Linked DNA regions of Homo sapiens: all the other regions are linked to region 3. The links are contacts of gene promoters, found by promoter capture Hi-C in blood cells and fetal thymus (Javierre and others, 2016). All regions are on one chromosome and are shown on one strand. The core of a region is centred on a gene start or on the middle of the fragment in contact, and the rest is flanking DNA. Distances in the headings are between cores, read along the strand shown. Region 1 holds the start of CCDC146-AS1 (CCDC146 antisense RNA 1). Region 2 overlaps CCDC146 (coiled-coil domain containing 146). Region 3 holds the start of RSBN1L (round spermatid basic protein 1 like). Region 4 overlaps CCDC146 (coiled-coil domain containing 146). Region 5 overlaps GSAP (gamma-secretase activating protein). Region 6 overlaps CCDC146 (coiled-coil domain containing 146). Region 7 overlaps CCDC146 (coiled-coil domain containing 146).

What was found. Contacts are between HindIII fragments. The CHiCAGO score rates a contact against its expected background, and 5 or more counts as called.
Region 1: a fragment that was not itself captured here is called in contact with the fragment with the promoter of RSBN1L in region 3 in 5 of 17 cell types (neutrophils, non-activated CD4 T cells, activated CD4 T cells and 2 more); the score reaches 7.3 in neutrophils.
Region 2: a fragment that was not itself captured here is called in contact with the fragment with the promoter of RSBN1L in region 3 in 2 of 17 cell types (non-activated CD4 T cells and monocytes); the score reaches 6.3 in non-activated CD4 T cells.
Region 4: a contact is called between a fragment that was not itself captured here and the fragment with the promoter of RSBN1L in region 3, in 2 of 17 cell types (monocytes and neutrophils). The highest score is 7.5, in monocytes.
Region 5: a fragment that was not itself captured here is called in contact with the fragment with the promoter of RSBN1L in region 3 in 2 of 17 cell types (monocytes and total B cells); the score reaches 6.5 in monocytes.
Region 6: a fragment that was not itself captured here is called in contact with the fragment with the promoter of RSBN1L in region 3 in 1 of 17 cell types (neutrophils); the score reaches 6.3 in neutrophils.
Region 7: a contact is called between a fragment that was not itself captured here and the fragment with the promoter of RSBN1L in region 3, in 10 of 17 cell types (monocytes, non-activated CD4 T cells, neutrophils and 7 more). The highest score is 12.6, in monocytes.

Annotation. Positions count from the first base shown.
Region 1 is chr7:77,245,026-77,248,817 of GRCh38, forward strand. All of the region lies in intron 4 of CCDC146 (coiled-coil domain containing 146), which reads left to right. CCDC146-AS1 (CCDC146 antisense RNA 1) reads right to left here and starts at 3,683. Exons shown (of 2, transcript XR_007060387.1): 1 at 301-3,683. RefSeq lists a silencer at 2,281-2,330. The HindIII fragment of the contact is 6,811 bases long and covers 1-3,792 here.
Region 2 is chr7:77,291,904-77,295,622 of GRCh38, forward strand. CCDC146 (coiled-coil domain containing 146) reads left to right here. Exons shown (of 19, transcript NM_020879.3): 18 at 1,049-1,297; 19 at 2,760-3,301. The coding sequence ends at 2,963. Among named protein-coding and RNA genes, the nearest start is that of CCDC146-AS1, 45 kb to the left of the region's middle. The HindIII fragment of the contact is 2,465 bases long and covers 1,026-3,490 here.
Region 3 is chr7:77,694,720-77,698,154 of GRCh38, forward strand. It overlaps RSBN1L (round spermatid basic protein 1 like), which reads left to right and starts at 1,740. Exons shown (of 8, transcript NM_198467.3): 1 at 1,740-2,336. The coding sequence starts at 1,751. APTR (Alu-mediated CDKN1A/p21 transcriptional regulator) reads right to left here and starts at 1,546. Exons shown (of 2, transcript NR_134254.1): 1 at 1,177-1,546. RefSeq lists enhancers at 835-1,730, 1,731-2,626, 1,811-2,040 and silencers at 1,561-1,780, 2,251-2,570, 2,861-2,960. The HindIII fragment of the contact is 2,163 bases long and covers 1,089-3,251 here.
Region 4 is chr7:77,226,200-77,229,895 of GRCh38, forward strand. All of the region lies in intron 2 of CCDC146 (coiled-coil domain containing 146), which reads left to right. The region is part of intron 1 of CCDC146-AS1 (CCDC146 antisense RNA 1); the gene reads right to left. Among named protein-coding and RNA genes, the nearest start is that of CCDC146-AS1, 21 kb to the right of the region's middle. The HindIII fragment of the contact is 4,152 bases long and covers 1-3,696 here.
Region 5 is chr7:77,313,076-77,317,013 of GRCh38, forward strand. GSAP (gamma-secretase activating protein) reads right to left here. Exons shown (of 31, transcript NM_017439.4): 27 at 1,295-1,414; 28 at 413-474. Among named protein-coding and RNA genes, the nearest start is that of CCDC146-AS1, 66 kb to the left of the region's middle. RefSeq lists an enhancer at 3,017-3,518. The HindIII fragment of the contact is 3,785 bases long and covers 377-3,938 here.
Region 6 is chr7:77,209,376-77,212,781 of GRCh38, forward strand. All of the region lies in intron 2 of CCDC146 (coiled-coil domain containing 146), which reads left to right. Among named protein-coding and RNA genes, the nearest start is that of FGL2, 11 kb to the left of the region's middle. The HindIII fragment of the contact is 1,525 bases long and covers 1,395-2,919 here.
Region 7 is chr7:77,189,924-77,193,830 of GRCh38, forward strand. All of the region lies in intron 2 of CCDC146 (coiled-coil domain containing 146), which reads left to right. FGL2 (fibrinogen like 2) reads right to left here. Exons shown (of 2, transcript NM_006682.3): 2 at 3,446-3,907. Among named protein-coding and RNA genes, the nearest start is that of FGL2, 7.9 kb to the right of the region's middle. The HindIII fragment of the contact is 3,370 bases long and covers 794-3,907 here.

The DNA of each region.
Region 1 (3,792 bases), core at 561-3,060, 450 kb before region 3:
TTTTCAAATACTCTAGAGAAAGGATTTTACTGTGTAATTTTGTCAATTTTTTTGTGTATGTTCACATAACATAAATCTTTTAATGTTAATAAATCTAATTATCTGGTTGGTTGGTTGGTTAGTAATTAAATCTATGTTGCAGTAGTTTCTGTTTCTGGATTAATATTTATGACTTGATAAGTATGCAGTTCAGGAAATAATATGTAATCTATTTAAAGTTAAATTAATACATTGTAAATCCATAATAAAGTAATTAAATACAGTTGAGCTTACTTTTTGAAACAAAACAGGAGTACTTACCTCTCTAAACAGTTTGAAAAGATTTTTCAGTACTCTCTTCAACCTTTGCCTTGCCTTGATTGTGTTACCTTTTGGGGCTTCCCTGTTTTCTAGTAATTCCTAAAATTTTACAGCAAATACGTTGCGTCTTTCATGCAAAATCTGACACATTCTGACCAGTCTTGGTCAGTTGGGGGAAACAAGGCTGTGGTGAGCTGGCACTGTCTGTTGCACTGTGAACCCGGAGAGTGGGAACACTCAGGCCGCACACGTGCAGGGCTGTCCTGACGTGACCCTGACCTTGGTGACTGTCTACTCTCCCGTGGCTGGTTCCTGTGGTCCTTGTTGCACATTCAGGGTTTATTAGTTGTTTTCCATTCTTGGTCCAGTGCTGATAGCAAAGTTGGAACCAAGAAACAACAGATCTGGTAACAAAGGAAAGGAGGAATGATCTTAGCAACACATCTGGAATTCCAGAAAATTAGAATGTGACAGAAGAGGCATGTAGGTACTCAGGAGTAGTCACAAGGAAAAACTCATAGCTAGAACAGATTTTACCTTAACTTAAAAAAAAAAAAAAGTTTGCTCTTCTGTGGCAACAAATATCTTAAAAGAACTAACTTAGTTAGAACAGGTTTCTCTGAATGTGTTTCTCATTACTCAAAAAGAAGCACCTGAGACACTTGTTTGAAAGGAAGATCCCATCCAAAAAGTAATGATTATGATTTTTGCCCCAGCCCACCGCCCCCACCCAAAGTGACATTTGCTTATGTGACTCTGACTCACATTATAGTTAGAGGACCGTGGGTTCCAAAGGTGGTTCTCAGCCCTGACTGGTCAGTCACCAGAGTCTCCTCTCAGTGATCATTCAGTCTATGCATAAACACTTCCAGTGACAGGAAGCTCTCAGCCTCCCACAGAGGCTCACGCCAACTTTGGAAATGCTCCTACACTTAAATGGTTGTTGGATTTGTTTATAAACCTACCTTCTTGCAACTTTCACCCATCCATGCTGTTTCTACTTCTGTGGTGAATGATGCCTCTCACACATGTCAGCATATCGGGCTTCCTGCATTATCTCTTCACCCATAGATCCTTAAAACCAAAAGCCTTTTGACGTTGCTTTAGAAAGGAAGTAAATCCTAAGGAGCTTTGATGTTGAAGCACCCCTTAGTCAGGAAAGCTGAAAAATGTCAGATTTAAGTTTTAATGCAAGTTTGAAAGGTTAGGAGTTAATACATACCAGGAGGCATAGAAACAGAAACATGTTTTTGCCCCAGTAATCCCATGCAAAAGTGATAACCCAAAAGGAGAGAAAAAGATATAATGCATAAAGATATTGATATTTATGAAAGTGAAAAATTGGAAGCAATCTGAATTCTCAAAAAATGTGGAATATTTAAATAATGCATTCCAGAAATACCTTGTTACTGAACCTCTGTAGTCAGAGCGGTATTTGTGTGTCAGTTTAGCTTTGACTGTGTGACTTTGGAAAAGTTGCTTAACTCCTCAGTTTCTTCATTTGTACAACAAAAATCACAATTCCTACTTAGCAAGGTTGTGAATTTTAGATATGATAAATTTAAAGCACCTGGCACACAGTATGTTCAGTATATGATAAATAATACTTAAGATTATTTTATTATGGTATATCTACCCAGTAGAAAACCTTGTAAATAGCTATTATTATAAAGTCTGTTTAGCAACTTAGGAAAATATTTTAATTAAATGTTAGGTAAAAATGGATTCAACCACACATATACATTTAAAATAAGTTTATTAAAAGATAACAGGGAAAATAAAAATGATCAACCATGTGTGATGGAGTAGGATTATAATCTTTAAAAATAGAAAAATACATTCCTTTTAGAGGAAATAAGTCAGTATTTCCTAATAAAAAAAGAAAAATGTATCATAGAAATGTAAGTTTTAAATGTCCTAAAGAATTAGTCATTTTATGTTTGTTTAAACATAAAAATATACTTAAAGGAAAGACCATAAGTCACATCTTGTGAAAGAGCTTGCTGTCACCATTTTGAAACTCAGAAATACTCAGGTTGCCTTTACAACCGAAAGATAGTAGCACACTACTACCCCCTGGTGGCAGCATGCCCGAGGTGTAGGATCAATACCTGGGAAGTAAAATACCACTAATGTATATGCAAGCTCTAAAAGCAAAGGCATAACTATTTAAAGATCTAAACTCAGCTTCAATTTGTGGTCTAGACAACTAATCTATATTAAATTCAATGTGACACATGTATTACAAAATTCATCTACATTATTGCAAATAAAATGTCAAAAATAACATAATCCCATTAAAAAGTAGGCAAAGGACATAAATAGACATTTTTCAAAAGCAGACAAATGGCTAAGAATCAAATGAAAAAAGTTCATCACTAATCAGAGAAATGCAAATTAAAACCACAATGATATATCATTTTATACCAGTCAGAATAGCTATTATTAAAAAGATAAAAAATAAGATGTTGGCGGAGTGCTGAGTAAAGGGAACACTTATACATTGTTGCTAGGAATGTGATTGGTACAAGCTCTATGGAAAACAGCATGGATATTTCTCAAAGAACTAAAAATAGAACTACTAATCCATCTGGCAATCCTACTATTGGCTATATACCCAAGAAAAAGAAATCATATCCAAAAGATACCTGCGCTCATATGTTTATTGCAACACTATTCACAATAGCAAAGATAAGGCATCAACCTAAGTGTCTGTCAAGAGATTGGATAAAGAAAATGTGACATATATATACAATGGAATACTATTCAGTCATAAAATGAAATCATGTATTTTGCAGTAATATGGATGGAACTGAAGGCCGTTATCTTAAGTGAAAAAAACTCACAAACAGAAAGCCAAATACCACATGTTCTCATAAGTGGGAGCTAAGTAATGTGTACACGTGGACGTAGAGTGTGGACTAGTAGATACTGGAGACTTAGAAGGGTGGGAGGACAGAAGGAGGGTGAAGGATGAGAAATGACTTAATGGGTATACATGTATATAATTTGAGTGATGGTTGTACCAAAAGCCCTGACGTCACCACACTGCAATATATCCATGTAACAAAACTGCACTTGTATCCCTTAAATGTATACAAATGAGAAAACCTGGTGTGCATGTGCTTTTAGCTCATGTTCCTAGATCTATGGACTAGTGGGATCTGGTTATTTGTTATAACCAGTGGACATAATTGTCTGTGTATTCATTTATTTCATATGATTTTCCAAGTGTGATCAATACAAACTTTAAAATCTTTCCATATCGGGAAATCATATGACTTCTTTGGCACTTAATAGTTAGTCATTAAATAAAGAATAGCAAGAAAAATGAAAAATATTTCTCTAGATTTCTTCAGGAAATCTGGTCAATAAAACAGTTCAAAATACGGTTATTGGAAGAAACACGCAATTATATCGAACTCATTTTGTTTAGAACATTCAAGCTATTTGAAGCAATTTCCAAAATGTCATTCTAGCATCGTGTCCTCT
Region 2 (3,719 bases), core at 1,008-3,507, 400 kb before region 3:
ATCTTATATAAGCAAAGAGTAACGTTAATTCTACCAGATTTTTTCCCCTGGATAAGTGACAAACTAATAACGTCAAATTAAACTAGAATTTAGGCATCAAGAACACTCTTGGCTGGGCACAGTGGATCATGCCTGTAATCCCAGCACTTTGGGAGGCCGAGGCAGGAAGACTGCTTGAGCCCAGGAGTTCAAAACTAGCCTTGTCAACACAGCAAGTCCCCATCGCTACAAAAATAATAAATTAGCCAACTATGGTGGTGCATGGCTATAGTCCTATCTACTTAGGAGGCTGAGGCAGGAGAATTGCTTGAGCCCCGGAGTTCCAGGCTGCAGTAAGCTATGATCACACTACTATATACCAGTGTGAGCAACAGAACAAGACCTTGTCTTTATTTTAATTTTTTTTTTTTTTTTTTTAAAGAACATCCCTGGCCAGGCGCGGTGGCTCACGCCTGTAATCCCAGCACTTAGGGAGGCTGAGGCAGGCGGATCACGAGGTCAGGAGATCAAGACCATCCTGGCTAACACGGTGAAACCCCAGCGCTAATAAAAATACAAAAAAAATTAGCCGGGTATGGTGTTGGGCACTTGTAGTCCCAGCTACTCGGGAGGCTGAGGCAGGAGAATGGCGTGAACCTGGGAGGCGGAGCTTGCAATGAGCTGAGATTGCGCTACTGCACTCCAGCCAGGGCGACAGAGCGAGACTCAGTCTCAAAAAAAAAAAAAAAAAAAGAACATCCCTTCACCTCTCCTTCTTACCTCTTAAAAATGGGCACTAAACTGTTCTCCTCAATGTTATTCACCTTGAAATCCAGTAACTAGATAAACAAATCCTTTTCTTGTTCTCTCCTTGTCCTTACTTACACAGCCAGGGTGTTCGGCTCAATATCTGCAGTCTCTTCCAGTTCTTAATTTCTGTGAATTCCAAGTTAGACCCTCCTTCCTTCAGACAAAAATGCACCCCGCCATTATAGACAGCCAGCAGCCTGCCATTTTAAGTCTTTGTGGACTGTATACATAGACTAAGCTTTGGGCTCTTTAATTCTAGATGAATGGCTATCAAAGAAGGATCAAAAATGCAACTGAGAAAATGATGGCTCTTGTTGCTGAGCTGTCCATGAAACAAGCCCTAACCATTGAACTCCAAAAGGAAGTCAGGGAGAAAGAAGACTTCATCTTCACTTGCAATTCCAGGATAGAAAAAGGTCTGCCACTCAATAAGGAAATTGAGAAAGAATGGTTGAAAGTCCTTCGAGATGAAGAAATGCACGCCTTGGCCATCGCTGAAAAGTCTCAGGTAGGCTTTGGCTCCTGTATTGCATTTCTAAAGGGTGCCAGCAGGGGTTGCATTCAGGCAACCCACAGTTATCCCACAGTATAAGAAAAATTTCCCCACTCTACCACACACAGTCCCAACAGTCGTTAGAAGTGTATTTAAGATATTCTATGATAAGTCAAAGTGCAGTAATCCAGAGTGCTACAATACTCACTGAAGAACACTTAGCAAGCACAGGGCCCACCCCATAGCCTTACATCCTGGGCTGCTGAGGCTGAACATCATGGCCTTCCACCAGCATAGCAATGACCAGGCTGGCACTGGCCTTGTCCATAAGTCTCCAATCTCTGTCTTGGCACCTCTGCTCAGACCACATCTGACTGTTCCATGTTCATCTCCTGTGGCCTCCACAGCATACAGTGAGGCCTCCACCCACATTTTAGGTGCCATGCCTTCTGCAGATGCTTGATGTACATCATAGGCCCCAGCGCCACCCCTTTCTTTTCCCACCTTAGGCCTCTGGCCTAAGACTAGGTCTATTGCTGACTCCCCCTGCAAGTTAGATAGCAGATCTTCTGTCTACCCCCATGACCTGTCAGTATTCTTAGACTGGAATTAGGCATCTCTTTCCAAGGAGTCTACATCCTCCAGATGTACAACTCACTCAGATTGCCAAGTGGGTATCACCGAAAGGGTCCCTATTTGCTCCTGAACTCAAGACAAAACTGCATTCAGAACACACTAGGAATACCTGAGCACAAGTGTAAATTACGTGATTTATAATTTCCACACCACCTGGGACTGTTCCTTTCAGGGCATTCAGATTTTACCTGTGGTGTCCCACTGCCATTTATTAGAGGGCTTTTCAGTGCAGTAAGTGATTACTCTATTTTCCAGAGGCACAGACAAAATCTTGAAAACGTTGAGGCTCAGGGCAAAGCTGGTGACCATTTTCCTCCTCTGGTTCCACTTTACTCCTCTACCTCTTCCATTGTAACTTTTGCTCACCAATGACTTACCAAAGGAAATATGTTGCTCTGCCTTTGTCAAAAACAGGGAAATAATTAGTGCTTGATGACAGATATTGAGGTGGAAACATAGTTAAGACCCACAAAGCAGTCTTTGAAAAACACTAAACTCCAGGATTAATGTGATGCTTAAGCAATACAGCCCATTCCAATGAGGTGTGGGGGTGTGTGTGTGTGGTGTGATTCCACCCTCCTACCCTAAACCCCAGGAATAATGTGATGCTGAAGCAATACAGCCCATGCCAATGAGAGGTAGGTGTGTGTGTGTGTGTGTGTGTGTGTGTGTGTGTGTGTGTGTGGTGTGATTCTACCCTCCTACCCCTCCCATCCCTTTGGGGAGTATCAGCTAGCACGGTCAAAGACTGTCCAGACCAGCTGTGTCTTTTGGGACCTAAGGATAAAGTGACTTCACCAGAGTTTTCAGAGAACTGAAAAGGAAAAATCATTCTTTGCAGGAGTTCTTGGAAGCAGATAATCGCCAGCTGCCCAATGGTGTTTACACAACTGCAGAGCAGCGTCCGAATGCCTACATCCCAGAAGCAGATGCCACTCTTCCTTTGCCAAAACCTTATGGTGCTTTGGCTCCTTTTAAACCCAGTGAACCTGGAGCCAATATGAGGCACATAAGGAAACCTGTTATAAAGCCAGTTGAAATCTGAATATGTGAACAAATCCAGGCCTCTCAAGGAAAAGACTTCAACCAGGCTTCCTTGTACCCACAGGTGAAAAATGTGAGCATAATACTTCTAATATTATTGATAAGTAAGGTAACCACAATTAGTCAGCAACAGAGTACAACAGGGTTTCTATTTACCCACCAACTACTATACCTTTCATGACGTTGAATGGGACATAGAACTGTCCTACATTTATGTCAAAGTATATATTTGAATCGCTTATATTTTCTTTTTCACTCTTTATATTGAGTACATTCCAGAAATTTGTAGTAGGCAAGGTGCTATAAAAATGCACTAAAAATAAATCTGTTCTCAATGAAGTACGGAAATGGACACAGTGGTCTTTGTTTATTAAAGAAAAAACAAATACTGTTCAATATACACACTTTAAAAAGAAAGAATGGCTATTTGAAAAGGAAAATACCTCAAGTATTGCAAAGGCATAACTCACTTTGTTGAATAAGAAGTAGCACTTAATCTTGGTAAATCTAAATTACATAAAGTAGTGAAGCTTGTCATGGCTTTTTGCATTTTTTTCATTTTATTTTTTTGACAAATAATAATTGTACCTACTCATGGGGTACATACTGAAGTTTCAATACATATAATGTATAGTGATCAGATCAGGGTAATTAGCATATACATTCAAACTTTATCATTTCATTGTGTTGGGAATATTCAATATCCTCCTAGCTATTTGAAACTGTATATTGTTACCTATAGTCATCCTACAGTGGT
Region 3 (3,435 bases), core at 490-2,989:
CAGAGTAGCTGGGACTACAGGCGCATGCCACTACGCCCAGCTAATTATGTATTTTTAGTAGAGGCAGGGTTTCACTATGTTGGCCAGGCTGGTCTCGAACTCCTGACATTGTGATCTGCCCGCCTTGGCCTCCCAAAGTGCTGGGATTACAGGTATGAGCCACCGCGCCCGGCCACATTCCTTATCTTTTAAGCTAAAACCCATCTCCCCAAATTGCTTATTTTCGAAGCAAAAATCAAAGCACATGCTTACAAAACATCGAACACGCAGTGTGCTTACTAAACGCTAAAATACAGAAACCTAAAAAAACAATTCTTGCTTTTCAAACATCCATAAATAATCGCCAACGAATTTTTCCTGGCAAGTCTACGTTATAATAATAATAATATTATTATTATTATTATTATTTTTTGAGACGGAGTCTTGCCCTGTCGCCCAAGCTGGAGTGCAGTGGCGCAGTCTCGGCTCACTGCAACCTCCGCCTCCTGGGTTCAAGCGATTCTCCTGCCCCAGCCTCCCCAGTAGCTGGGATTACAGGTGCGCGCTTCCATGCCCAGCTAATTTTTGCATTTTTAGTAGAGACGGGGTTTCACCATGTTGGTCAGGCTGGTCTCGAACTTCTGACCTCGTGATCCGCCCGCCCCGGTCTCCCAAAGTGCTGGGATTACAGGTGTGAGCCACCGCGCCCGGCTATAATAATTATTATAAAATTCAAATCTTAAGGCCGCACATGGTGGCTCACGCCTGTAATCCCAGCACTTTGGGAAGCGGAGGTGGGCCGCTCACCTGAGATCAGGAGTTCGAGTCCAGCCTGGCCAACATGGTGAAACCCCGTCTCTAATAAACACAAAAATTAGCCAAGCATGGTGCCGGACGCCTGTAGTCCCTGTTACTGGGGAGGCTGAGGCAGGAGAATCGCTTGAATCTGGGAGGCGGAGGTTGCGGTGAGCCGAGATCGCGCCACGGCACTCCAGCCTCGACAACAGAGCAAAACTCCGTCCCAATAAATAAATAAATAAATAAAATAAAAATCTTAAGGGTCTAGTCACAACAGTTCAAAAGTCTCCAAAGGGAGACTCTCACCTTCAAGCTTGTAAGTAATACTAAAGTTCTAGATTTGCTGGAAGTTATCTCCTTCAATGGATTACAGCACATGATCTAGCAATAATAACGTACCTTGTCACCACATCGAATGATTTTGAACACTTCCCATCAATCGACTACCGACTAACAAAAAGAAGGACTTGATTCCCGGCAATTTTTTCTCTTCTGAACTGAGCATTCCCGAAATCCAGCTTGCTGAACGCGCAGATGCAGGGTGAGAGGCACCCCAGGAAAAATGGAAGGGAAAGTGGTACAAGTTAAAACAGTCTTCGTGGCCGCAGAGACGATCGCTACCTCGGCCATGGCAGATCTGGGGGTCCGGGGCGGGGGTTCTTCCCTGATACCCACCGGGCACGCGAGTTCACGCCAGCGACAGTGGAAAGCCCTCCCCTCGCAGCGCGCTCCGCCACTAGCCGCACCCCGCCGAGCTCTGACCTCCGAAGAGGGTCCCTGTGGCGATCCCGCCCCTTCGTCTGATGTTTGTGCCTTTGATTGGCTCTTAGGTGGATCCCTCAGCGTGGCTTGCCCAATGGAGCAATGCCGGCTGGTGGCCTGGCCGCTCCGCCCCTTCCCTACCCCTCGCGGAGGGCCCGCCCCCTGCCCCGCGCCGGCTAGCGGAGGAGAGTAAATACAACAGGAGCGCAAAATGGCGGAACCGCCGAGCCCCGTGCACTGTGTCGCTGCCGCGGCCCCCACCGCCACCGTCTCGGAGAAAGAACCGTTTGGCAAGCTGCAACTCTCCTCCCGGGACCCTCCGGGTTCTCTGTCCGCCAAGAAGGTCCGGACTGAGGAGAAGAAGGCACCGCGGAGAGTGAACGGAGAAGGGGGCAGCGGCGGGAACAGCAGGCAGCTGCAGCCGCCGGCAGCACCTTCGCCTCAGAGCTATGGCAGCCCCGCGTCTTGGAGCTTTGCCCCTCTGTCTGCTGCTCCCTCCCCGTCCTCTTCTCGGAGCAGTTTCTCTTTCTCCGCTGGCACGGCCGTTCCCTCCTCAGCCTCCGCTTCCTTGTCTCAGCCGGTGCCGCGCAAACTGCTGGTCCCTCCTACGCTGCTGCACGCTCAGCCTCACCATCTCCTCCTGCCCGCCGCCGCCGCCGCTGCCTCGGCTAACGCCAAGTCGCGCAGACCTAAGGAGAAGCGGGAGAAGGAGAGGAGGAGGCACGGTCTCGGTGGGGCCCGAGAGGCCGGCGGGGCCTCCCGGGAGGAGAACGGGGAGGTGAAGCCGCTGCCCCGAGGTGGGTGCCGTGCGGGGAGGGGGAGGGGAGGGCGCCGTGGGTCCCCGCCGCCCCCTGGCGCCCACGGGGCCCGGGAAGGGGGAGCGCGGCGGCCGCGTGCGCCGGCCTGGAGGGGCTGGGAGGCGTCCGGTTTTCAGCAGAGGATTTTGCAGTTCCCAAGGGGACAGGAAATGGAGCCTGTAATTTCGGTTGCAGAGAGGGGGATGGCCGACACTCTTATTTTCTGTATCGTTTCTTCCTCCCAGTTAGTGCGCTGCAGGATTTGTGAAAATCCATCTTGAGGACTCTCCTAGGTTTGTTTGGCTAGGGAGAGAGATGGAGGGAACGGGATGGGGGAAGGGTTTGGTTTTGTAAAAGATGCTTGATTGATTGTTAGACCACTTAGACGTGGTCGCGGGAATTCGTATTTGTGACACAGCGTTCAACCCCGGATAATCCTGTCAAAAAAGGGGTGTGGAGAGAGCACTGGCGTCAGCTGGAAGCTACCAGAGGCCTGAGCTTTTCATCCCTATTAGGGAAATGAGGTAGCGTGCAGGGCCCGAAGTGCGCTGTTTCGTAAGGTACCCTCCCTGCACCCTACTCTCCGCTGCGTATTCTTAAGTGTTTTGGGTGGTCCTGTTTGAAATACCACCCTTCTGAAAGAATTTTCAGCCATATTCTTTTTTTCCCTGCAGCAAATGATAAAACCAGGAGCTTTGACGATTTTTCGCCAGATCAAGCGGCTGCAGAATGTTTGAGCATTAGAAAAAGGCGAATTCTTAAGGGTTCTTGTCAGACAGGGTCAGTTTTGTTTTTAAATGTAGGCTAGTCGTATAATTTTTCAGGTGTTTCCACCACTTCAGCTACGGATACACAATGATCTGACAATAGTGCAACATACGGACTAGTTGAAAATCAAATCTTTATGTGATCGCAAGCTTAAAGCGCATAATCTTTATTATAAATGTGCACTGCTACACAGTGTTGTCAAATAACTCTTTTTGTTTTTTAGAAAAAGAAATGTCAAGCAGTTTCAGCATTGCTGATCTAACAGTAGCTCAGATCATGAAAAATTCTGTTTGGATTATAATGGTTTGTTTTCACAACTTAAAACATGCTG
Region 4 (3,696 bases), core at 737-3,236, 470 kb before region 3:
TTCCAGCAGTGAGAGGGGAGCAGGCGAAAGGGAGATGAGAGTGGTAACCACTTATGCTTTCACATTTATATTACCTTCCAAAGCATGCCAGCCATTCCCCAGAATGAAGCCAACCCACTAGGTAATGTCAAAGAAGTCACAAGAACAGGGTAGGCAAATAGCTGTGACCACCTTGGACAAATCCAGGTTCCCTGCACACACCCACGCAAACACCTAATTCTTTCCTCATGCTGACCCCCTTCCAGATAAACTCACTTGGTGAAAGCTCTTACTGAGCTATTACTTCCTTGAAATGTCCTAGAATTTCCATTTTTGAAATTTTTTCCATATTGTTACATGTCATCCATGAATCATGAACTCTTTTTAAACTTTATCTCTAGAGTAAATGTTTCCTTCCAGTCACATAATTGCCAGCAGGGCAATTCAATAACACAGAATCTATTGTGAAATCATATTTATGAACTTATGACATTATATCTAACCTTTCATTGTGTATGCTCTTTGACAATTTAAGATTGAACTTTGTGCTATATTTCTTAGATTCTGCATTTTTGAAACATGACAAACTTGAGTTCTGCACCCACTTGTATCATGCAATGTGAAAATGCAACCATTTTCCATGTATGATATTGTTTATGAGTGAAGCATTTTTATCTGCTAGAACTTAGTGTGAAGTTTCTAACCAGGGATCGACCTGCTTAAAGAGACAGTTTATAATTTCACAGAAAAGTCACTTTTTGATGAATGTTGACGTCTAGATTATGATTTTTTATGTTTAAGGCAGCTAAAATCTATTCTCCACAGTTTAGTTTTTTTAAGAGAGATTTGTTTTTTTAGAGGAGACTGAAATAACAAAGTTTATCAACTAACATTCTGAACATCTATGACTTTACCTTTTCCAATTTATGTAGAAACTGCAAGAACATATTCAGGTGTTTTACCCTGTCAGCTTTCTTTGCAGGTTTGTAAGGCACCAAAGGCCAGCAGAATGATAGAGACAGAAAACAGGAAAGGAAACCTCTGTAGTTTTCCTGCTTTTCTGTGGCCATAAAACTAGCCAACATGTATCCTTGGCCCACCTACAATTAGGCTTCAAACCATTGCTGTTTTTTTGTTTGTTTTCTGAGACGGAGTCTTGCTCTGTCGCCTAGGCTGGAGTGCAGTGGTGCAATCTCGGCTCACTGCAAGCTCCACTTCCTGGGTTCATGCCATTCTCCTGCCTCAGCCTCCCGAGTAGCTGGGACTACAGGTGCCTGCCACCACGCCCGGCTAATTTTTTGTATTTTTAATAGAGACGGGGTTTCACCGTGTTAGCCAGCATGGTCTCGATCTCCTGACCTCGTGATCCGCCTGCCTCAGCCTCCCAAAGTGCTGGCATTACAGGCGTGAGCCACGGCGCCTGGCCACCATTGCTGTTAAAGATGGGACTCAACTTAGGGGAAATACAGTTGAGCATTCAGTAAGTCAGAGCTAGAATCTGCCTATATCTGCCACTAGGACCTGATCACAGTACTCTCTAAATTCTAATTCTCTCTAAATTCTGCTCTAATTCCCTCTTGTTTACAGTGATAGTCTGCAAGCACATTTTTAATAGCCTTTTGTTATTAAAAGTAATACATATTGGAAAAATTAGAAAACACAGGCAAGCAAAAATAAAAACATAAAAGCAGCACATTCTTACTACCCAGAGCACATCATTTTAACATCTTAGTTCTTATCCTTCTGGATCTCTATATATTCACATACTCATATGTAAAATAAGATCATCTTCTACGGACAGTTCTTGCTTTCTGGCTTAACAAGATGTCTCAGCTTCACTTTGTGTCTTCCCTGTACCAGACCTGAAATCAACCATTTCTAACACTTGCTGCTTCCTTTTAGTGGGAAATAAGATTAAAGACCAAAATGTATTAGGAGTGCTCATTGTTGTTAATGTGGCATTATTTCTAGACCATTATATATTTTTTAACCTTTAAGTTTAGTGATACAAGTGCAGGTTTGTTACGTAGGTAAACTTGTATCATGGAGGTTTGTTGTACAGATTATTTCATCACCCAGGTATTAAGCCTAGTACCTATTAGTAGTTTTTCCTGATCCTCTCCCTTCTCCTCCCTTCCACCCTCTGACAGGCCCCAGTGTGTGTTGTTTCCCTCTATGTGTCCATGTGTTTTCATCATTTAGCTCCCACTTATAAGTGAGAACATGTGGTATTTGGTTCTCTGCCCCTGTGTTAGTTTGCTAAGGATAATGGCCTCCAGCTCCATCCATGACCCTGCAAAGGACATGATCTCATTCTTTTTTATGGCTGCATAGTGTTCCATGGTGTATGTGTACCCCATTTTCTTCATCCAGTCTATCACTGATGGACATTTAGGTTGATTCCATGTCTTTGCTATTGTGAATAGTGCTGCAATGAACATACACATGGATGTGTCTTTATAATAGAATAATTTATATTCCTTTGGGTATATACCCATTAATGGGATTGCTGGATCAAATGGTATTTCTGTCTTTAGATCTTTGAGGAATCACCACTGTCTTCTACAATGGCTGAAATACTTACACTCCCACCAACAGTGTATAAGCATTCCTTTTTCTCCACAACCTCAGCAACATCTGTTATTTTTTGACTTTTTAAAAATTGTTATCTTTAGTTCTGGGGTACATATGCAGGATGTGCAGGTTTATTACATAGGTAAATGTGTGCCATGGTGGTTTGCTGCACCTGTCAATCAGCCCATCACCTAGGTATTAAGCCCAGCATGCATTAGCTATTTTTCCTAATGCTCTCCCTCCCCCAACTAACAGTAGCCATTCTGACTGGTGTGAGATGGTGTCTCATTGTGGTTTTGATTTGCATTTCTCTAATGGTCAGTGATGTTGAGCTTTTTTCCATAAAATTGTTGGCATTGGCCACATGTATGTCTTCTTTTGAAAAGTGTTCATTTCCTTTGCTCACTTTTTAGTAGGGTTATTTGGCTTTTTCTTGTAAATTTACATTCCTTATAGATGCTGGATATTAGACCTTTGTCGGATGCATAGTTTGCAAAAATTTTTCCCATCCTGTAGGTCATTTAATCTGTTGATAGTTTCTTTTGCTGTGCAGAAACTCTTTAGTTTAATTAGATCCCGTTTGCCAATTTTTGTTTTTGTTGCAGTTGCTTTTGGTGTCCTCATCAGTAAATCTTTGCCTGTGTCTATGTCCTGAATGGTATTGCCTAGGCTGTCTTCCAGGGTTATTATAATTTTAGGTTTTACATTTAAGTCTTTAATCCATCTTGAGTTAATTTTTATGTACGGTGTAAGGAAAGGGTCCAGTTTCAATCTTCTGCATATGGCTATCCGGTTACTCCAGCACCATTTACTGAATAGGGAGTCTTTTCCCCATTGCTTGTTTTTGTCAGGTTTGTCAAAGATCAGATAGTTGTAGGTGTGCGGTCTAGGCTATTTAATGGACAAAGCTAGGGAAAAAAATTTTAAGCATGAGTTAGTTCATACTTGTATTTGCAATTCAATTTTAACTTTGTAGTGTTTTCACTAATTTGATTTTACAATTGTATCTCTTTTACACAGAAAATTGATTTCTAATGTAATTGACATTAAAGTTTTCTTGAGTTTACCATAAAAATCACTCTTTTAAAGTGTTTTTAATGGCTTTTAGTATATATACAGAGTTGTATAATCATGGCATAATTG
Region 5 (3,938 bases), core at 1,019-3,518, 380 kb before region 3:
CCATGGTAGAAATGCAGTAAGGGGAAATACAGGTCTAGAACCTTCTGTCCTCACCTGTATTCCAATGTATCCAAGTTAAATCTGTTTAAATGCCAAAAGCACGTTTCCCCTTCTCCCTCCCTCTCAGACTCAGATGTAAATATTAGTGTGGTTTCCTAAGAGGCAAAAATGGCTTAATGTTCTCACTGGACTGTGCCAAGGCAGTGCAGAGCCAGAGAGCAAGTGCTTTGTAGGCCAAGTGGGAAACAGCTAACAGAGGGCTGGGGACGGGTGGGATTTCTTGGAAGTGTTGAAAAGTGAAACAATTCAATTGACTTTAACCCAAAGCAAGTAAATGCTCTTTTTGCAAGAAGAAATTGAAGGAGGGTAATGCCAAAGCTTAGGGAGAAAATAAAATGTAACTCAGTATTACCGGAGGAAGCCGCACAATGATACTGAATTTCAGTTTTTCATTTTTCTCTGTATTATCCAGATCTACAAGAAAGTTAGAGATTAGCAAATGAAACAAATACCCATTTTGATACTTTAGCAAGTTAATATTAATACTTGAGTGGTTCATCTTGATAGGACATATCCCAACTGTGTATTCTCAAGCTAATCTAACAGCATTTTGGAAATTTTACTCTGACTCTCTGAATAAAAAGGGATTTTTCTATAACAGGCTGCCAGGTACAAAGCAATTTTATTGACTAACTTAAAACAGAAGGTACCTTGAGGAATGACAAATGCTTTCATATAAACAAAAATCATCTTAAAATACAATTGAATAATTTGAGTGATTATACTACAGAATTTAAAGTTCAAATTCATTTAATTGCCCCTCTCAATAATTTTCCTTGCATTTCTAGTCTAACTTTGAGATGACAGAGTTAATCAGCTGAAAATAAGCCATTTCGTGACATTTTCTTGAGAAACAAGCCTGCAGAGGTTCCTAGCCTCAAGTGCCCTCTTGCACAGAAAAGGAATCTAATAGTTGTATGTGGATTGAAAAGTCCCTTAGGACCTCGTGAAGGGCTCAGAAACCTTAAATTGGCCCAAAAGATGATTACAGGGAATGGATTGTGCTCACAGGACCAGCTGTATAATTTGTGGGGCTCAGCACAAAATGAACACGAGCAAGCCCTCGTTCAAATACTACTAAGAATTTCAAGATGTAATGCAGCATTAAACTGAGCAGGGCACTCTTCTGAGTGCAGCCAGGCTCTTGGTGACTGCACAGGTTGCACACCCAAGAAGCTAGCCTTGGTGGTGCTCAGGCTGGAACTAGCACTCTGGCAAACTCAGGGCTTCTTACCTTTCATGAGCCTTATGACAGCTGTTTCAGTGAGAAGCAACACTCCACTGTCAATGCAATGCAGCAGGTTATGCAAAGGGAGACACTGGACCCCGAGGATGGTGTGCAGAGTATGAAAACCTAGGATGAGAGATCTGGAGGGTAAACACAGTCAGCCAACATCTCCAGCAGCCCCCGGGGAATGGATTAGATCATGTTAATAAAGCACTTAGTTCAGTGCTTGGTGCCTGGAACCAACTGAATTTCTTGAAAACAAGGTCCAAGTTTCCTTCTCTGTATTATTCGTAACTAAATATCACGCTGGGTCTATAGTAAGTTTCCGGTAAGTATACATTCCTTGCTCCTTGGGTCTCTTCCTGCACAGAAACAGAGCAAGGGCCTGCTCAATGGTTTTACGGTTTGATATGTTTGTGATTCTACAGTAAGATAGCAAAAGAGTACAGAAGCATTTCAGATTTCGTATGTCCAGACTAAAAGGTTGTTGGGATGAGGACCATTTTGCTGAAGGGAAACAAATTTGGACCAGAAGGCAATAGTTTATATGGCTTATCTCTGGGTATGCCCTAGAGAAAGGCTTTTAGAGTCTACTTGGACTAAAGTATAGAAAAGAAAGAATTAAGACAATATGGCCAGATAGTAAATTTATAGGAATTCAATTGAGAGGCAGGCATTCTCAAGCCTGTCTCACGGGTAGAGCTACCCACAGAAACCCAGATCTCTAAGTATACTACTACTGACAACAGATAAAAACATCATGCATGGGAGAAGGTATCAGACCAGGAGAGAATCAAAACAGCTCTCTTGGAAGTGATGGCATTTGCGGGGAGCTTCAAAGGACAGATGCAATTCCTATCAGTGGAAATGAGTGCGGACAGTAGAAAAAGCCAGGTTTGGCATGAGCAGCCCTAGGCCAGAATCCAGCTGTATTACTCACCAGCTGCAGGCAACTAAGCCTTTCTGAGCCTCCATTTCTTCATCTCTAAATTGGAACCACCAGTACCTTTCCCACAGGGCTGCTTTGAGAACTAGAGCCAGGTCTGTGAAGAGCCTAGCATGCAATATAACAATAGCGACCCATACTGGACATGTACCAAGGCTTTCAACCTGTGTCCTGGCTCATCTGATCCTCATACAAAAGTATGGGGTGGGAATTACTAGATTCCCATTTCATAAATGGAAAAACCAAAAGCCAAGATTCACAGGAGCTAGGCAACTTGCCCAGGATCACAGAAATAATAATGTGTAAGTTGAAATTTGCATCAACTGTGTGATTGTAGGGTAGGCTTTCAACCATAATGTCACTGTTAATAACTGGCAGCTGTGTTAATAGAACATGAACAGAGGTCCGAAGATGAGAAAGCACAGGGCATATTCAGAAAATAGTAAATGATCCAGCTGGGTTGGAATCATATTAGAGGAGAGAAAGATTAAGAGGTAAGGTTGGAAAAGCTAATTTATTCAGCACATCCCTTCCACACACCTGGCAAGGGGCTAAGAGTATAAAAATGAGCAAAACAGGCACAACTGCTGCTCCCATACACCTTGCAGTCTGCTGGGGGAGGCAGACAATCAATTACAAAAAATAGACATTTTTAAAAATGTGACCAGTTCTGTGCTTATGAGTGCAGGTGACAGAGGTTGAATGCTGAATGATAGAGATTTATTAATTTGAGAGACTTTGAGGAGGTAATGAAAGTTTTTAAGCAGAACAGAAGATTTACCATTGGGATATTAATATGGCAACAGGCAAAGAATGAGTTGGAGTAATAATTTGCTACAGAAGGTATGAAGACCTGTAGAGAAGCTATTGCCTGAACGTGGATAAGAGGTAATGGAGGCACTGAATCAGAGAGGCATGGTAACATGTACAGGCTTTGCAACTCATTGAATGTGGGAATGACTGACAGAAGAATCATAGCCTACTCTTGGGAAGGTACCTGACAAAAGGATGATGCCCAACGAGCAGGGCTTGGATTCAGAGAAATCATGGGATTTTCTCTCTCTAAACACATGAATCACAAGCCATGGGGCACAGTCCTAAGTCCTTGTAACATCAAGGGTCAGATGAAGTACAGGCTCTGCCCACAAGCATGTGTTAATGGGCTAACAGGATGAGTCCACTAGCTTCCCTGAGTCCAAAAAAACTCCACTATTTTACTAGTTAATTAACAACAACGTTTTTCAAATGGATTTGGAAATTCTTCACAAAACTATTAGTAAAAAGTTACAAAATTATTTCTGAAGAAAAGTTTACACTAGATTATTGATGATATTGATTTTCTGGATTCAAATTTCCCTCTCCAGCCCTGTGTTCATATGCTAAAGGTCCCTGATGACCCTTCATCCTCTATCCCCAGGGCACAGTCCCAAGTTCAGGGACCTGTTCTTGGCCTCTATACATCAGCTCTGAGCAACAGAGCAAATTGGCTATAATTAGTCATCAGCTCCACCCAACTTTAATCCTCATCTTCCAGGGCTCCTGGCCTCCTCTAGCCAGCAAGTGCAATACAGTTCCTTTTTTTAAAAGCAAATGCCCTAGCTCTAAACCCTGACTTCCTTTTTGTGTTCCCCATTCTCTTCTTAACTTTAACCAATTCATGTTACAAGTCTCTGACAATCGTAACTCAAACAGTCATCATTAGTC
Region 6 (3,406 bases), core at 907-3,406, 480 kb before region 3:
CAAGCTACGCTGACACAGGGGTGGGCTCTCAAGGCCTTGGGCAGCTCCACCCCTGTGGCTCTGCAGAGTACAGCCCCTGCACCTGCTTTCATGGGCTGGCATTGATTGCCTGTGGCGTTTCCAGGTGCACGGTGCAAGCTGTTGGTGGATCTATCATTCTGGGGCCTGGAGGACGATGGCCCTCTTCTCACAGCTCCACTAGGCAGTGCTCCAGTGGGGACTCTGTGTGGAGGTTCCAACCCTACATTTTTGCCCTGAACTGCCATAGTAGAGGTTCTCCATGAGGGCTCCACCCTGGCATCAGACTTCTGCCTGGACATCCGGGCATTTCCGTACATCCCTTGAAAGCTAGGCAGAGGCTCCAAAACCTCAACTCTTGCCCTCTGCACACCCACAGGCTCAACACCACATGGAAGCCATCAAGGCTTGGGGCTTGTACCCTCTGAAACAACAGCCCATTCTGTACCTTGACCCCTTTTAGCCATGGCTGGAGCTGGAGCAGCTGGGACACAGGGTGCCATGTCTCAAGGCTGCACAGAGCAGTGGGGCCCTAGGCCTGGCCCACAAAACCATTTTTCCCTCCTAGGCCTCCAGGCCTGTGATGAGAGGGGCTGCCGTGAAGATCTGTAAAATGCCCTTGGAGACATTTTCTTCATTGTCCTGACTGTTAACATTCAGCTCCTCTTATGCAAATTCTCACAGCTGGCTTTAATTTCTCCCCACAAACTGGATTTTTCTTTTCTACCACATAGTCAGCCTGCAAATTTTCTAAACCTTTATGCTCTTCTTCCCTTTTAAATATAAGTTCCAATTTCAGATAATCTCTTTGTGTACACATATGAGTGTATGCTGTTAGAAGCAGCCAGGGAACATCTTACATGTTTTGCTGCTTAGAAGTTTCTTCCACCAGATACCCTAAATCATCTCTCTCAAGTTCAAAATTCCACAGATCCCTAGAGCAGGGGCACAATGCCACCAGTCTCTTTGCTAAACCATAGCAAGAGTGACCTTTATTTCAGTTCCCAATAAGTTCTTCATCTCTATCTGAGATCTCTGCAGCCTGGATTTCACTGTCCATATCACTATCAGCATTTTGATCACAACCATTCAACAAGTCTATAGGAAGTTCCAAACTTTTCCTCATCTTCCTATCTTCTTCTAAACCCTCCAAACTGTTCCAACCTCTGCCCATTACCCAGTTCCAAAGCTGCTTCCACATTTTTACTTAACTTTATAGAAATGCCCCACTTCTCTGGTACCAATTTTCTGTATTAGTCCATTCTCACATTGCTATGAAGAACTACCTGAGACTGGGTAATTTATAAAGAAAAGAGATTTAATTGGCTCATAGTTCCACAGGCTGTACAGGAAACATGGGTAGGGAGGCCTCAGGAAGCTTACAATTATGACAGAAGGCAAAGGGGAAGCCAGCATGTCCTATATGGCTGGGGCAGGAGGGAGAGAGTGTGAAAGGGGAGGTGCTACACACTTCCAAACAACCAGATCTCATGAGAACTCACTATCATGAGAACAGCAAGGGGGATATCTGACCCCTAATGCAACCAGCTCCCACCAGGTCCCTCTCCCAACAGTGGGGATTACAATTCAGCATGAGATTTGGTCAGGGACACAATGCCAAACTATATCAATCTTGTAATAGTTTTTAATCTTTTAAAATTGTGAAGTATATTAGATATACATTAGGGTATCTATAAATGTATAATTCAGACCAAATACCCAAGTAACCACCACCCAGGTCAAAAAATAAAACATTAGCTCTCAGTAATTCCTCTTATCCCCCTTCACCCCCTCTAACATAGCGACTATCCTAACTTTTATTATCATTTTTTTCTTGTGGTTCTTCATAGTTTTACCACCTAAGCATGAATCTCTAAACACCTTCCTTTTGCTGTGCCTGTTTTTTAAACTTGATGTAAATAGAATCATACAAAATGTATTTTTTGTGTCTGGATTATTTAACTCAATGTTATATTTGTAAGAACCATTGATATTATTGCATGTATTTTTCTATTGTATGTTTAGTCCTCTATCTGTTGTATTTCCAATTGACATTAGGATTGTTTCCAGTTTTCAACTATTAGATATAATGCTACTTGAGCATTCTTGTACATGTCTCTCCATATACTTGTACATGCACCTTGAAGGGTTATTCACCAAGAAATGGAATTGCTTTGTTACAGGGTTTGTGCTGCTTCTATTTTATTTTTTTTATTTTTATTTATTTATTTATTTATTTTGAGACAGAGTCTCACTCTGTCACCCAGGCTGGAGTGCAGTGGCGTGATCTCAGCTCACTGTAACCTCCACCTCCTGGATTCAAATGATTCTCCTGCCTCAGCCTCCTGAGTAGCTGGGATTACAGGCGTGCTTTTCCATGCCTGGCTAATTTTTTTATCTTTAGTAGAGATGGGGTTTCACCATGTTGGCCAGTCTGGTCTTGAACTCCTGACCTCAAGTGATCGGCCCACCCCAGCCTCTCAAAGTGCTGAGATTACAGGTGTAAGCTGCCGCATCCAGCCTATTTACTCTTTTAAACACTAACTTCAAACAAATAGCCAATGTCATGCTTAATTGTGAAACTCCAGGAGTGTTCCCATTAAAATCAGAAATAAGGAAAGGGTGCCTGATATGAGCATGATCATTGCATATAATTCACTTTCAAAAAATGAATTATATGCAATGCACTTAGACAGAAAATGATGCATACATATGGGAAAGAACAAATGACCATTATCTGTAGCTGACATAAATGCCTACATAAAAAATACAAAATAATATTATAGTACAGTAAGGTGACTATTTTCAAAATAAATATACAAATACATAGGTTTCCTATTTAATAATAAGTTCAATACATATTGAAGAAAAATATATAGCTTTCCTATTATAATAAGAATAAGCTTTCCTATTTAATAAGAATAACAAGTTCAAAAACATATTGAAGGCTGGGCATGGTGGCTCATGCCTGTAATCCCAGCACTTTAGGAGGCCGAGGTGGGCGGATCACGAGGTCAGGAGATCGAGACCATCCCGGCTAACATGGTGAAACCCTGTCTCTACTAAAAATACAAAAAAACAGCCGAGTGTGGTGGCGTGCACCTGTAGTCCCAGCTACTTCAGAGGCTGAGGCAAGAGAATGGCATGAACCCAGGAGGCGGAGCATGCAGTGAGCCGAGATCACGCCACTGCACTCCAGCCTGGGTGACAGAGCAAGACTCCGTCTCAAAAAAAAAAAAAAAAAAAAATTGAAGAAAAAAATCCCATTCACAGTGATATGTCTCAAATAAATAAACAAATAATAAATAAATAAACAAAAAAGAAAAGAGTAAATTATTCATGGTTATTGGCTAAGCCTGTAAGTGTCATTAGCAGATTCTAGCCTACA
Region 7 (3,907 bases), core at 1,229-3,728, 500 kb before region 3:
CTCTCCTTAATTTTTAATGGTATTTATCATGTATTTGTCTCCTCTGATAAATATTTACCATATATTTGTCTCTACTACCCGCTGCATGAGTGTAAGATTTTTATCCGTGTTGGTCACTGATAAATCTCCAGCCTCCTAGAAGACTGACACATGGTGTGCACTCAGTGAATACTCGATGAATGAATTAAGGCTAACTTTACCCCAGCATTTCTATCTCCATAAGTCTGAGTTCGAAGACATTTCTGGCTTCTCAACTTTAGTTACCATGAGCTGCTATTGAATGTAAGTTTGTATTAACTAAGCAAGCAAACTATTAGACTCAAACATGTCTTCTCAAGATAGCCTGTTGAATCTATAATTTCTGGTAAATATACCTATACCAGTAAATTCAGTCACATCTAAAATTGTTTCTTCCTTAATCAGGCAACCTCAGTCTCTCTCTACATGTCTTCTCCAGCCTTCTGCTGATATAAGTTAGCAAAGTTGTGCAAAGCCTTCTCTTTCCATTAGACTTTAGAACTGATACTGGGGCATGCCCTGATGATGAATCTGGAGATGCTGATGAGTGGGATGAAGGAGCCTAAGGAAGAATTTGGAGTGTTCCCCCAGGAAAGAAAGCAACAGTGCCCTCCAGCAAGAGGACATCCTCATCAATGTCAGGGGAGGGACTACTTCAAAAAGCAAGGGGGGGCCCACTCATGTTTGGGAATTCGGGACACTCCATGTTTTCAAAGTATACCCATTTCCTCTCATTTCCACCTCTTTCCAGTCAATCAACAAAGGAGACCTGGCAAGCTTATGACTTAGTAGACATTGTGATCTGGCAATGCACAGAATGAAATTAAAGTTGGGAATTGGCCACCTCGGCTTGTTACCTCTGGGGAGAGGGACAGGATTGAAATTGAAGGTGATTTGTGAAGGAGTCTTTATTTTAATCTGTAACTTTTTAAAAAATTAAAGGATTCATGGATTTTATATTAAAATTAATTTCAAAATTATTCCTGCTTTTTTCTTCAGGAATTCAGTAGGGTGGAACAATCACTATTGGGCAGGTACAGCAATATGCCTCTGTGTGACATGTCCCCACAGGCATGTTCCTAGGACCCCTTCTAAAAGTTTGCCACTGTTACATTCCCAGTCCTATAGTATACAGTAAGTCCTCACTTAACATCATGGATAGGTTCTTGGAAACAGCAACTTTAAGCAAAAACAGCATATTGTATGCCATAGGAACTTCATTCTTGTTTATGTCAATTAGCTTATGGTAAAATTGGTTTTGTTACATGGTATGTTGTTTTAACGTCGCTGTTTCTGAGAACCTATCAACAGCGTTAAGTGAGGACTTACTGTATTTGATCCTGTCTTGCCATATTCTCCCTGGCTGTAATTGCTTCTCACCTATGTTCACAGTCTCTCATATCCGCAGATTTGACCCTACCCACTACTTTCCCAATCATAACTGTGGCCTCTTTAGAGTACAACTCTTTCTCTGTGGCAACATATTATTAATCACTTTGAATAACAATACTCATGTCTCAAATTTCCTTTACTCCTATTCACACAGATTGATTTCAGGATAGAACTTAGACAATATTGAATAATATATAATAAGGAATATGTAGGATGGCATAAGATCTAGGAGAGGTGCCAGGACCCCACCTACTGTCATCAGAGAACTCTGCCTATAAGAGATAACTATTTAGGGCCTGGCGCAGTGGCTCACGCCTGTAATCCCAGCACTTTGGGAGGCCAAGGTGGGCGGATCACGAGGTCAGGAGATCGAGACCATCCTGGCTAACACGGTGAAACCCAGTCTCTACTAAAAATACAAAACAAATTAGCTGGGTGTGGTGGCGGGCACCTGTAGTCCTAGCTACTTGGGAGGCTGAGGCAGGAGAATGGTGTGAACCCAGGAGGCGGAGCGTGCAGTGAGCCGAGATGGTGCTACTGCACTCCAGCCTGGGCGACAGAGCAAGACTCCATCTCAAAAAATAAAAAATAATAATAACTACTTAGGATGATGATGATTTTTTTTCTCTGTCACCCAGGCTGGAGTGCAGTGGCGCCATCTCTGCTCACTGCAACCTCTGTCTGCCAGGTTCAAGCAATTCTCCTGCCTCAGCTTCCTGAGTAGCTGGGACTACAGGTGTGAGCCACCACACCTGGCTAATTTTTGTATTTTTAGTAGAGATGGGGTTTCACCATGTTGGCCAGGCTGGTCTCACGTGATCCGCCCACCTCGGCCTCCCAAAGTGCTGGGATTACAGGCATGTGCCACCAACACCCAGCTGGGAATGATGATTTTTAAATATATATGTTCTAGGTGCTTTATATATGTGATTTAATCCTCTCAATAACTCTATCAGGCAGATTCTATTACTATTCCTATTTTATAATTGAAGGAACCAAAGAACATTAAGTGACTTGCCCAGGATCATACAGCTTGCAAATAGTGGAGCTGAAATTCAAACCAGGAAGGCCAGCTCCTGAGTTCCTGCTGTTAATCATGGGTGATAAGACAAAACCCAGTGAGGAAAGAGGATGGCATTCTATCTAGACCAAGGAAACAGTATACTAAAGGCAATGAAAACATTAGAAAGCGTAGTTTGTTTGTGTACAACAAGGCGTTTAGTATGGCAGAAGTATAAGTAGTGGTAAAAATCATTTCATGAAGGGACTTATTTGCCAGATTTTATCTTGTAGAAAATAAGGCATTGTTGGCCGGGCACGGTGGCTAATGCCTGTAATCCCAGCACTTTGCGAGGCCTAGGCGGGTGGATCACGAGGTCAGGAGATCGAGACCATCCTGGCTAACATGGTGAAACCCCGTCTCTACTAAAAATACAAAAATTAGCTGGGCGAGGTGGCAGGCGTCTGTAGTCCCAGCTACTCAGGAGGCTGAGAGAGGAGAATGGCGTGAACCCAGGAGGCAGAGGTTGCAGTGAGCCGAGATCTCGCCATTGCACTCCAGCCTGGGCGACAGAGTGAGACTCCGTCTCTAAAAAAAATAAAATAAAATAATAAAAAAAAAGAAAAGAAGGCGTTGTTGAAAGTTTTTTAAGCAGGACAATAACATGATCAGAATTGTACTTTTGAACAATCCCCCTGGTAGGGATGAAAGTTGGACTGGAATAGACTGAAACCAGAGGTACAGACTATTCAGATGCGTTTGTGTTGTCCTAAGGAGATGAAGAGGGCTAACCAGAGCAGCAACACTAATAACGGAAAAAGAGGAGAGGAAGTTGAATGCCACAAAATGAAACTGAAACTTTTGTATTTCAAATGTTTCAACAGTATTCTAGAGGGAAGTAAGATAATGGTGTTCCTCTATTTGCCTCTGACTTCTTGTTAATGAAATAGTACTCATTAAAGTCTTCAGAGTCACAGATATTGTATAGCTGAGGTAAGCATTTTACAACTTTTCAGACACAAGTAAGTACATAAATATTATTTTACAACCAACAATATTTAATATTTCCACATTGAAGAATAGATGTGATAATTAAATCTTTTATAAGGTTTTAAAAAGACATGAAACATAAACCTAATTATACATAAAAGAAAAGAATTTTAAACAAGAGCTTATTGTGATGACATTACTCATAACTTTTACCTTTAAAACCTTTTCTTGGGTAGCTATTCAAAAGTAAAGACCACAAGTTTTGTTGCCCAGATTTCTTATGTTTTGTATATTTAAGCTCTTTATTTATTGAACAGATGTGTCATTAATTCATTTGGAGCATTACTATTATCAGTAAAATTTGATTTTTTTTTCCCCTCAGTCATAGGTAAATCAGCTCCACCTGGAATTTCTAAGGACCCAGTTTTAGTCAATATTTTCAAGTAATCATGACCTCAGAAATAGTCTTAATTAAGATAACAAATATTAGCCATCAAAATGGAACCA